Linked DNA regions of Homo sapiens: region 2 is linked to region 1. The links are contacts of gene promoters, found by promoter capture Hi-C in blood cells and fetal thymus (Javierre and others, 2016). All regions are on one chromosome and are shown on one strand. The core of a region is centred on a gene start or on the middle of the fragment in contact, and the rest is flanking DNA. Distances in the headings are between cores, read along the strand shown. Region 1 holds the start of OR5K2 (olfactory receptor family 5 subfamily K member 2). Region 2 has its middle 3.8 kb from the start of GABRR3.

Evidence for each region. Contacts are between HindIII fragments. The CHiCAGO score rates a contact against its expected background, and 5 or more counts as called.
Region 2: a fragment that was not itself captured here is called in contact with the fragment with the promoter of OR5K2 in region 1 in 3 of 17 cell types (total CD8 T cells, total CD4 T cells and naive CD8 T cells); the score reaches 6.7 in total CD8 T cells.

What each region holds. Positions count from the first base shown.
Region 1 is chr3:98,494,706-98,500,210 of GRCh38, reverse strand. It overlaps OR5K2 (olfactory receptor family 5 subfamily K member 2), which reads right to left and starts at 2,530. Exons shown (of 1, transcript NM_001004737.1): 1 at 1,580-2,530. The coding sequence starts at 2,530. The coding sequence ends at 1,580. The HindIII fragment of the contact is 17,047 bases long and covers 1-5,505 here.
Region 2 is chr3:98,036,347-98,041,851 of GRCh38, reverse strand. No RefSeq gene overlaps it. Among named protein-coding and RNA genes, the nearest start is that of GABRR3, 3.8 kb to the right of the region's middle. RefSeq lists an enhancer at 2,213-2,507. The HindIII fragment of the contact is 1,472 bases long and covers 1,689-3,160 here.

The DNA of each region.
Region 1 (5,505 bases), core at 1,281-3,780:
GAGGGTTGGATGAGGTAATGTGTATACACAGCTTAGCACATGGACGCATAGTAAGTATCCAAGTACATTTGGTGATGCTGATGGACGTGCATTAGGCAAAAACTCAACTGATGGGGTTTAAATTTGAAACAGGCAAGGAAATACTGAAATGTCTGAGTATAATTGGAATGAACTAGGTTAGGTTTTCTTGGAGGTTACAAATATACACTATATTTTTATAGTTTTTCATTCATGATTTAGGGAATTATATCTAGAAATATATCTGTTTTCTACTCCCTTTTCTATATAGACTCAGCATGCTGATTTTCCATGTGATGCCAGCCTCTGGTGGCTGGCTAGCTTGAGGCCCACTGCAATCTGACAACTGCCTTCTGGAAATTTAGATGTGACCACAGAGCATCAAGAGAGGAGGTGGAAGGGAGAATTTTTCTGTTACTTGTTATGGGTCCTCCTTGTTCCAGAAGTTAGTAATTAAAATAATGGCAATGTTCTATTATTTAAGAAGATGAAAAGAGTGGTGTCTTGGTCATTAATATGTCTCAGCATCTAGAACAGTGCTTGCACATAGCAGAATCTCAATAAATATATGTAGAGTGAATAATTGGAAAGTATCTCTTTAATGATGTCACATAAGATTATTAGGTTCTATCCATATTAAACGACTTTAAGTTTTGCAATGGTGAAGGAATAAAAGAAAATATTTGAGATAAGCCCTGTCCACAGTCCCACAATCACACTTTTTTACATGTCTGTATATAATATACCCAAAGGTTGTGTCTCCATTGTTTAACCCCTTCCTCACCTCTCAGGAATGGGCACAGAGAAGTTTAGCCTAACTCACTGACAATGAAGGCTCTTCAGATCTACATGAAGTTTGAAATGTTTGTCTAGAACTTTATGATATGGTATCTTTATGCATGTAGGTTTTGGAGTAAATAAAACTTAATGTAACCTATCTTGAAATTTGACATTCTGATTTTAATTATTTAAATGTTTAAATCATTTAACAACAACTTCTATTTGGAAATATAATATTCACTTTTATTGGCACAATCACTTCCTGACTACCTCATTCTAACTACAATAATGTCCCCCACATGCTATTACATTTTCTTCCTCAAAATTCACTTGCCATTTTTGTTGCTCATGGATATAAGTGAGTTCGTTGGTTGACTGTTCACATGATCTTAAACACTTAACTGTAATGCACATGTTGTAAGCTATAGAGTGGGCTGGTTATCAAAGCCCGCTTTGTAAATGGTATGGCTTTTTATATTTGTAACTGGTAGTTTTGCTGTTGTTTTGGGTGTTGATCATCATTGATACTAACACAGTCTATAGGCATGGTGGCTTTCTACATTGCTGCTTGAGTGAATTCAATGTCTGCATGTGCTTTTAAATTCTGAGTAAATATTTAGCACAGTTCACTCCTTTCCATGAATTTTCCCTGTCACATATTTCTGCTTAATTTGATTGTATTTTGATATGTTTTAATATTTTGTATACAATTAGTACACTTCCTCTGTGTAATTTTATTTAGAAGTTTTTTGAGCATTAAACCATTAAGCTAGGATAGATGTCATTTGTTCACACTTCCTTGAGATTTTATTTTCAGCAGAATTTTTCTTAAGACACTTATTACTTCCTTGTTTCTCAGACTATAAATGAAAGGATTTAGTAAGGGAACTACTATTGTAAATAAAATAGCAGCTGGTATATCATTACCTCCTTCTTCAAGCAAATTTGGTCTAATGTATAGGAAAAAAATAGATCCATAGAATAATGAAACTGATGAAAAGTGGGATGCACAAGTAGAAAAGGCTTTGGCCCTTCCCTCCTTGGATTTCATTCTGAAAATAGTAAGAAGAATATAGAGATAAGATATTAAGACACTACCTATGGTAAAGACTTGAACTGAACCTGAGAAGATGAATAGAACCAGTTCATTGATGAAAGGGTCAACACAGGAGAGTCTATACAAGGGAAGAGTATCACAGTAAAAGTGGTTGATGTGATTCAATCCACAGAAAACTAACCTAAATACAAGCCCTACATGAATCATGGAATGCAGATTTCCAGCTATGAAGGCGCCTGTGGTCATCTGAATGCAGAGTTTCTTGGACATCATGATGTGGTACTGCAGTGGGTTGCAGATGGCCACATAGCGGTCATAGGCCACTGCTGCCAGAAGAAAGCAGTCTGCAGTTTCCACAGTGCAAAGAAAATAAAACTGTACTGCACATTCATAGAGGGAAATCCTTTTGCCCTCAGAAAAGAAGTTCTCTAACATTTTGGGGGTAATAGCACAGGCACAGCAAGAATCCACAAGAGCCAGATTTCCCAGAAAGATGTACATTGGTGTGTGAAGCCGACAGTGTGTAAATATCAGTGCCACCAAACTAATATTCCCCACCACGGTGATCAGATAGATGGCAAAGAACACCACAAACAGCAGAGTCTTCAGCTCAGGGTGATCTGTAAATCCTGTGAGGATAAACTCATTTTTCATGGTATGATTTTCTTCAACCATTCCTGACCTCTCTGAAAAAAATTGTAGAGGAATAAGGCACTAATTAATAATATGCCACAATTATTGACGTCTCTTTGGCTTAAAAGAAGGAGAGCATCTTCCACAATGTCTCCTCATCTTGCCTGGAATTTGGTGCATGCCCAATTCACTGCGAGAATGAGTCTCCTGAGGCTACTACTTTTGTGGCTATTGGTTGAACATGTTTCTATCATATTTTGAAAAAATATCTGATTGGGTGCACAAGGATGACTTTTGAGGTCTTGAGAGAAATATTGAGAGCACAGAACTTCTCCATATAGTATAGGTAAAGCTGATTCGTAATTTAAGTGTCAGTAATTGGTACCAGTGTTCCCGATTTCAATGTTTGTATATGTAGTGGTTAACAATGTGTTTAAAAGACTATTTTTGTATGCTAATGTTAACAGCAGCATTACCTTCAATAACCAAAACGTAAAAACAACCCAAATGTTCATGGACAGGTGAATGGATAAATAAATTGTGGTGGAATATTACTCAGTCTTAAAAAGGATTGAAATTCTCATACATGTTACAACATGGATTAACCTTGAGGACATAAGGCTGATTGAAATAAGCCAGACACAAAAGGACAAATATTGTATGATTCCAATTACATGAGAAAGCTAGAGTAGTCGAACTTACAGAGACAGAAAGTTGAATGGTAGTTGCCAGGGGAAGGGGTCTACTGGGAGCTATTGTTTAATGGGTACAGTGTTTCTGTTTAGGAAGATGAAAATGTTCTAGAGATAAATGATGGTGATCATTCCACAACAATATTAATGCACTTAATGCTACTGAACTGTACACTTAAATATGACTAAAATGATAAAAGTTATGTTGTGTATAATTTACCCCAATAAAAATATTTTTAAAATACTATTTTCATCTGCCTATTTCAGCAAATTACTATCTCCAATACTAGTGGAATATACACTTAAAAATAAGATGCTCTGGGGGAAAAGGGAATATTTATAAGATATTTATATTCCTGGGAGTTGGGGAGTAAAAGTGTTATGGATGGAAGCTGGGAGAAAAAACAAAACACTGCATTTAAAAAGTCTGGTGAGCACAGTGGCTTATGCCTGTAATCCCAGCACTTCAGGAGGCTGAGGAGGGAGCATCACTTGAATCCAGGAGTTCCAGACCAGCCTGGGCAACATAATGAGGCCCTGTCTCTTAAAAAAAAAAATAAAGTATATAAAATTACCAGGGCATTGTGACATGCTCCTGTAGTGCCAGCTACTGGGGAGGCTGAGGTGAGAGGATTCATTGAGCCTGAGAGATGGGGGCTGCAGTGAGCCATAATAGCATCACTGCACTCCAGCCTGGGTGACACAGCGAGACCCTGTCTCAAAAAAACCAAACCAAAACCAAAAAGCCTCCTATGTTACTAGTGATACTATGAGTAAAACTACTTATGTGCATAAAGAAATTAATGTTATTAAAAGCAATTGGAGAAATCCTGAGTTAAAAATATATTCGGTTGTCTAACTACGTATCAAAAAATTATGAATAAAATGTCAAACTGGGAGATTATCTGCAGTAAATTTGATAAAGTTTCTGTACCTTTGCTATAAGATCTCATACAAATGAGTAGGAATAATTACTAGAAAATAGGTAAAGCCCAGGAATAGAAAAATCTCAAAGAAAAAAACATTTTTAAGTAAATTAAAAATGTTTGATTTTATTACTAATCAGAGAAACACCATTCAGAAACACCTATGAAGCTATATTTATTTTGTATATGAAAATAAGATTAAAAAACTGATAATATTGAGCGTTATCTAGAATATAGTAAAATGGCAACCTAATTGCATTCCTGGTAAATGTATAAATTGGTGTAATCATTAGAAAATAATTTGGTAATAGATTAAAGAAACTCTTAAGGTTCATACCTTTTGATCAGTAAAAATAAATGCATCAAAAAGAAATAACTAAAACTTCAGAAAATATGTACATATAATGATGTTCATTATAATCTCACTCATAATAGTGAAAAATTTAAACACCTAAATGGTAACCAGTTAGTTAACCAGTATGATTAAATAAATGTGAACCATCCATATGAATGTATACTGACAAATATTTTAAATGGTGTTTAGCTATAATATCTATTATAATAAAACCGACATAAAAATATTGCATAAAAACAAAATAAAAAGTTTTACATGCAGTATAACCGGAATTACCAAATAAATATTTACATGTAAATGTAATAGAAGGTAGTACAGAAGCACATCAAAATGTTTTTACTAGTTTTTGCTATGTAATAAAAATTATTGGTCATTTTTTCCTCTTTATATTTTTCTCTATTTTAAATTTTCTATAATAACTGTTCCTCATATTCAGAAAACAATCTTAATTTTAAGTAAAGTGATGTACTCTTACATCTGCTATGTTTTATACTTTGATAAGTCCATAAAAATCATTGGGGATTCAACTAACGTTTTCTGCACTTTACAAATCTACAGTGGAGAACATCACAATGCACTTACTGAACAAGTGCCTGCTTCATTCTCATGGTGATGACATTGGTAGTTACAATAATTGTTTGCTGACAGTCTTGCACGTATCTCAAAACATTAAGGGATATGTTTGCATCTTGTGGTAATGCATTCTTACAGTCCTTTACCTATGAAAGCAGTATCACCTTAGTGTCAACTTCTACTCTTTTGAACATCATGATTCTATGGTATTCCTAGATTCTATGATGATCACATTTTTTAAAATTTGAGAATATTTTTAAAACTTCTGTTACTAACCCCTTAGGTATGTCCTTAAACATGGAGTTCTAACCTGCTGGAGCATGTTTTATTTTGATCTACCTTCATTTATTATAGCTACATTTGGAAGCATATATGCATTGTCCTGATATTGGATGCCTGTTTCATCCAATTACTTTCATCCTGTTACTTTCTTTAAAAGGTAGTTGAGACTGTTCTAGATATTTACAGATT
Region 2 (5,505 bases), core at 1,175-3,674, 460 kb after region 1:
ACCTATTTGGAAACATTTGAGATTCTTGAATCTGGATTCACAATTTCCAAATCTTCCCCAAATTAGGAAGGTTTTAGTCATTATTATTTAAATTAGCTTTCTGCTCCCTTTTTCTGTCTGTTTTCCTTAAAATTCCATAATGCATTTATTGGTTTACTTGATGGTATTCCATAAATCCCATAGGCTTTCTTCACCCTTTTTCATTATTTTTTTCTTTTCTTCTCTGACTGGATAATTTTAAATGATCTCTCTTTGAATTTGCAGATTCTTCCGCTTAACTGTGTGCTGTTGAAACCCTCTTTTGCATTTTTCATTCCACTCATTGTATTCTTTAGCTCCAGAACTGCTCTTTGGTTCTTTTTAATGATTTTCATCTCTTTGTTCAACTTCTCATTTTTTTCATATATTATTTTCCTGATTCCACTAAGTTACCAATCTGTTATTTTGTAGCTTGCTGAGCTTGTTTAAAACAATTATTTTTAATTCTTTGTCAGGAAATTTGTAGATCTTCATTTCTTAGGGATTCATTAGTGGATTTTTTTGTATTCCTTTAGTGTTATCATGTTTTCTTGATTTTTCCAGTTCTTTGTAGCCTTGCTTTGATGTGTGTGTATTTGAACAAGGAGTTACCTCTTCCAGACCTTACAGATAGGCTTCAGTTGGGAAAGATCTTCACCACAGATGGGTACAAGGGTGCTGGTCAGATGGGGTGCAGCAGCTTCTACTCTAAGGTGGTGCATTGGTATGAAATTCTAACAGCTGCATCAGCTGAGGTCAGTGTCAGCAAATACTATGGGGGCACTTGATGGCAAAATTTGTGGGTGTCCATGGCAGCAGCAATAGTTTCTTGGGCCCTTCTGTTCTCCATTTCTCCCACAGATGGAGTCTTCTCTGAGAAATATGGGCATATTTCTCAATGGTACCAGGGCCCAGAAAGTAGGTGCATGCATAGCAGTGGCAGCACTGGAGCCCAGGGAGATATATTAATATTAGAGACAAAAAGGTCAGGTGGCAATGGAAATACAAAGGGCAGGAAAATGCAAAAGTAGCTCTGAAGCAAAAAACGAAGAAAGATTTTGAAAGGGAGTAATTAAAGATGACTCAAAATCTCAATCCTGGAAAACAGGGACCTTATTGGTAATCTTAATGAAATTCATAACATTGGAAGATCATACTACATTAATAAAGATGCATGAGATTGATAGCTGATATTAATTTTGTCAATTATGGTATCTTCAATGTATCAAACATTGTGCTAAACATACAGTCTCATAAATTCTGACTTTAACCTTAAAAGATAGGTCCTAGTATTATTCCTCTTAACTATATATAAAGTAACTGACTCAACAAAAAATCTTAGGTCATTTTCAATGTTCAGACAAGTAGTAAATGGAAGAATAGATGTTTGTACCCACAAAAACTGACACCAAATATCCCAATAAAGATTATCGCTATTGTCTCTTCTTAACCACTGTGTTTTATTGCTTCCTCAGGGGTCTCAAAAGTCACCTACATACATGTGCTTAATGAATACAGAAGAGGAAATTGAAGTCCAGGAAGTTTAAGAAACTTTTTAAAAATCATGCAGTAAGTACCATATCCAGTCCCAGAGCCATGTGCCCTAGTGTTTTATTTAGTGCCCTTTAGAAACTTTACTCATAACAGGTACTTCATTCTAATAGAAAGCTTATTTTTCTACAATGTTCACCTCTGTCTCTTACCGTTCCCACAAACAAAATGCTGTTCTTAGGTGTAGGTAAAAAGTGAAATCTTAAAAATAAATTAGTGTTCAATCAGAGAAACCAATAAACCTCATTAGTCAATTATTCGAGGTAAATAATTGCATTTTCCTCAATAACGGGGTGTGTGGGTTTTTTATCTGAATCATTTGGTATTATATCATTAATCTTTTCAGTTCATTCTGCCAGTATTGGTAAGTGAAAATTATTCACTACAAGTGCTGAATAATTTGCATTTACCAATACTACATAAGAAAGTTTTCCTAAGGAGGCAAATTCGAGACAATAGTAATTTGGATGAGAATGTGTATCCTATGCTTCCATCTAGTGGTGGTCTTGCGCTATTACACGATGATGAAGACTGCTTTGCTTTAGTGTCATCCTCTTGCCTGTAAAACAGAGCAAGATTCTTCAGGTGTCCTCACTCGTATCACAGCTGATTCTGTATGCCAGGAAGGATGTGATAAGAGACTGAAACAAGGGTCGTGGGGGGGACGATGGTCTACTGGGTATGAAAAAACGATGATCTACTGGTTATCTGGTAATTCTGGGAACTGGAGAGGAAACAGGATTTCTGAGTGAGAGCAGGGTTTTTTGGAAGGATAGCAAATGCCCCCTACTGGCTGCTCTAGGCATGGCCAGTTATATTTCCAATGCATCAAAGCAAAACAGTTACGCGCAATTTGATGACGGGGACAAACTCAGAGAAATGCGTTGTTAGGTGATTTCCTCATTGTGCAAACATTGTAGAGTATACTTACACAAAACTCTATGGTCTAGCCTACTGCACACCTATGCTATATGATATTACTCCTAGGCCACAAACCTATACAGCACGTTATTATACCAAATACTATAGGCAATTGTAACACAATGGTACGTATTTGTGTATCTAAACATGTATAAACATAGACAAAATAGAAAAGGTTCAGTTAAAATGCAGTATAAAAGATGAATTGTATAGGGCACTTACCATGAATGGAGTTAACAGGACTGAAAGTTGTTCTGGGTGAGTTAGTGAGTTGTTCTGGGTGACTGAGTGTGAAAGCCCAAGACATGACTGTACACTACTGTCAACTGTACACTTAGGCTATACTAAATTTATACAAAATATTTTTCTTTCTTCAATAATAAATTAACCTTAGCTTATTGGAGAACTGCAGTCATATATGTGGTCCATCACTGACCAAAACGTCGTTGTGCAGCACATGACTGTAAATATGAAAACTAAATTAGTTGATCACTTAACCTCTCTAGTCCTAGCTTCCTCTGCATAAAAGAGAGCAGGAGAGACATTAAATGTAGTCTAAATGATTTCCAAAAGTCTTTCCCTATTAAGATTTTATGACTCTACAATTTGCAAATCAAGATATTTTGCCTAGATGACATCCTGCAGACACAGTGGGAAATTTATAGAAGCTTGGAATTTGTTGTTGTTGCTGTTGTCAGATCCAGTCTAAATAAGACCTTAGCTTTTCTTTTGTTTTCTCTTTATAGGCAAAATAATGGCTACATACCCCAAGATTGGCGACACAGCCATCCTTTCCAAATTTTCTCTTTATGTCGCTGCCAAAGAAATAAAAACTGGCTGACTGACATCATCAGAGTGGAAGAAGAGTAAACAGGAGACAATTTATGCAAGGGAGAGCTTAAACTACTACGAAATTCTCCAGTGACCCTGTGATTCATTTTGTTTCCTGGTAGTTACCACTTTCTAGTTCTGACAGATGTGCTTTTCTGCTTTTTTTTTTTTTCTTAAGAAGCTTACTGAGCTTGCAAAGGGAAGCTCTAAAGGAATAAGGTTAAGGAGCTAACTCAGCATCAACAGAGGCAGATGCCTTCTTGTAATTGAACTAAAACCCTTAGACTTTCTGTAAGTCAACTCTCTCTAGTGTAAGCCATTGCCTTATTTTTATTTTTATGCAGACCATTTCCCACTTAAAATTCATCATCAAAAAACAAACTGCTTTTATTTCTTCCTTAATGTTTATAGCGATATAGATAGTCTAGCAAAGATTATTCAGTAAAGAGGTCAGACAGATTCTCATCATGATTCATCCCTGCGATGCAGAAGGAGACACCAGGGCATCCTAACATAATTTAAGTGACAGTGAGGAGGCATATGACTTGACAGATATTTCCGAAAAATAAGTGCCCCAAATAGCTCCACTGAGTCCTGTAAAGAGGACATCTTCTATTCCAGTGCTTCATTCCTTCAGATCAAAGACCACTTCGTGAAGTCTCCTCTTCAATCTTGCTTATTCTTTATCAGCTACCAATATTTCTTTGCGAACGTAAAAGTTTAGCAGTCATCAAAGGTTGTCTCAAGATGATAGGACACAGAATTTTGGTAAGGAGAATGTGCAAAGCACCAATTTGCCTATAAATGAGAATCTCACTGATTTACCTATGAATGAGAACTGGCTGTCATGGAGGAGTACTATTTTGGGAGAATGTAAGTATCGTGGTTTTCTTTTGTTTTGTTTTGTTTTGTTTTGTCTTGTTTTGTTTTAAAATGGGATCTGAGATCAAATAAGTTTGAGAGACACAGAATTCAGCAGAACAAAGCAGGCTTTTTTTTTTTCAACTGAAGCCTTGAACGTGTTAATATTCATTCATTATTTAAGAAATATTTACTAATACCAACTATACTTCAAAGATAATTATAAGTGTTTGGGATGCCTCAGGGAACAAAACAAAGATCACTTCCTTGCAGAGCTTACATTCTAGCCGGATAAGACAGATTATGAACAATAAACATAATGTAAATTATATAAAACATGCTAAGCAGGATGAAAGGTAGATTGGTAACACAGGTTGTAGGAGGAAAGAAAGAATACGGTATTTTTAAAAAGAGTGGTCAGGGTATACTTCATTCAATAGATGACATTTTAGCATACATTTGAATTTGTTAAGGGAGTTAGCCATATAGATATCCAGATGAACAATATGTCAGGCAAGGGTGACAACCAGTGCAAAGGCCCTGGGGTAAGAGTGTGACCCCTAACAGAGTAATAAAATGTATAATGTTTCCCAAACTCATTTAGTACATAACAATTTTTCACAAAATGCCTTCAGTGTAGCCAAGAAATACTTTGGGAAATGTTAGTGTAGATGTTGCTTACTAAGTGAAGAGGGGACGAGGTAATAGATAGTGCTAGGGCCGAGGGGTTGGTGCCCTGGATCTCGTAAGAGCACTGAGGTGGAATGTACTGAAACAAACTTTGACCACAGTGCGGTCTTCCAACAACCAAAGTGACAGTAGCTTAAGATGGGCAACTTTTCCTACATTTCTTCCATTGGCTCTTCAAAGAAGGCTTACTGGCTCCGAAATACCTGAAGAAAATGCTTCAACGTTTCTAAACATTACAGAAATTAAAATTACAATACTGATTGAATTACTTAACATTTAAAAGTCTGATAATACCAATGTTAAAAAATATTTTAAGAAATAAGAACTCTCATTCACTGCTAGTGGGGAAGTAAATTGGTACAAGCACTTTGATGAGCAATATGATTGTGCTTAGTAAATTTGAAGGTGTGAAAATTATTTGTCCTAGCCATTTTACTTTTAGGTATTTATCCTAAAGAAACACTTACACATGTGTACAAGAAAATATTTATAAGAATTTATTGCAGGATTGTTTATAATAGAAAAATAAGAAACAATGCCCATCAACAAAAATACGAATAAATGCAATGTTATGCATCCATACTGAAGTGCCATATAGCAGTTAAAATGAATTAACTAGAGGCACATTTATCA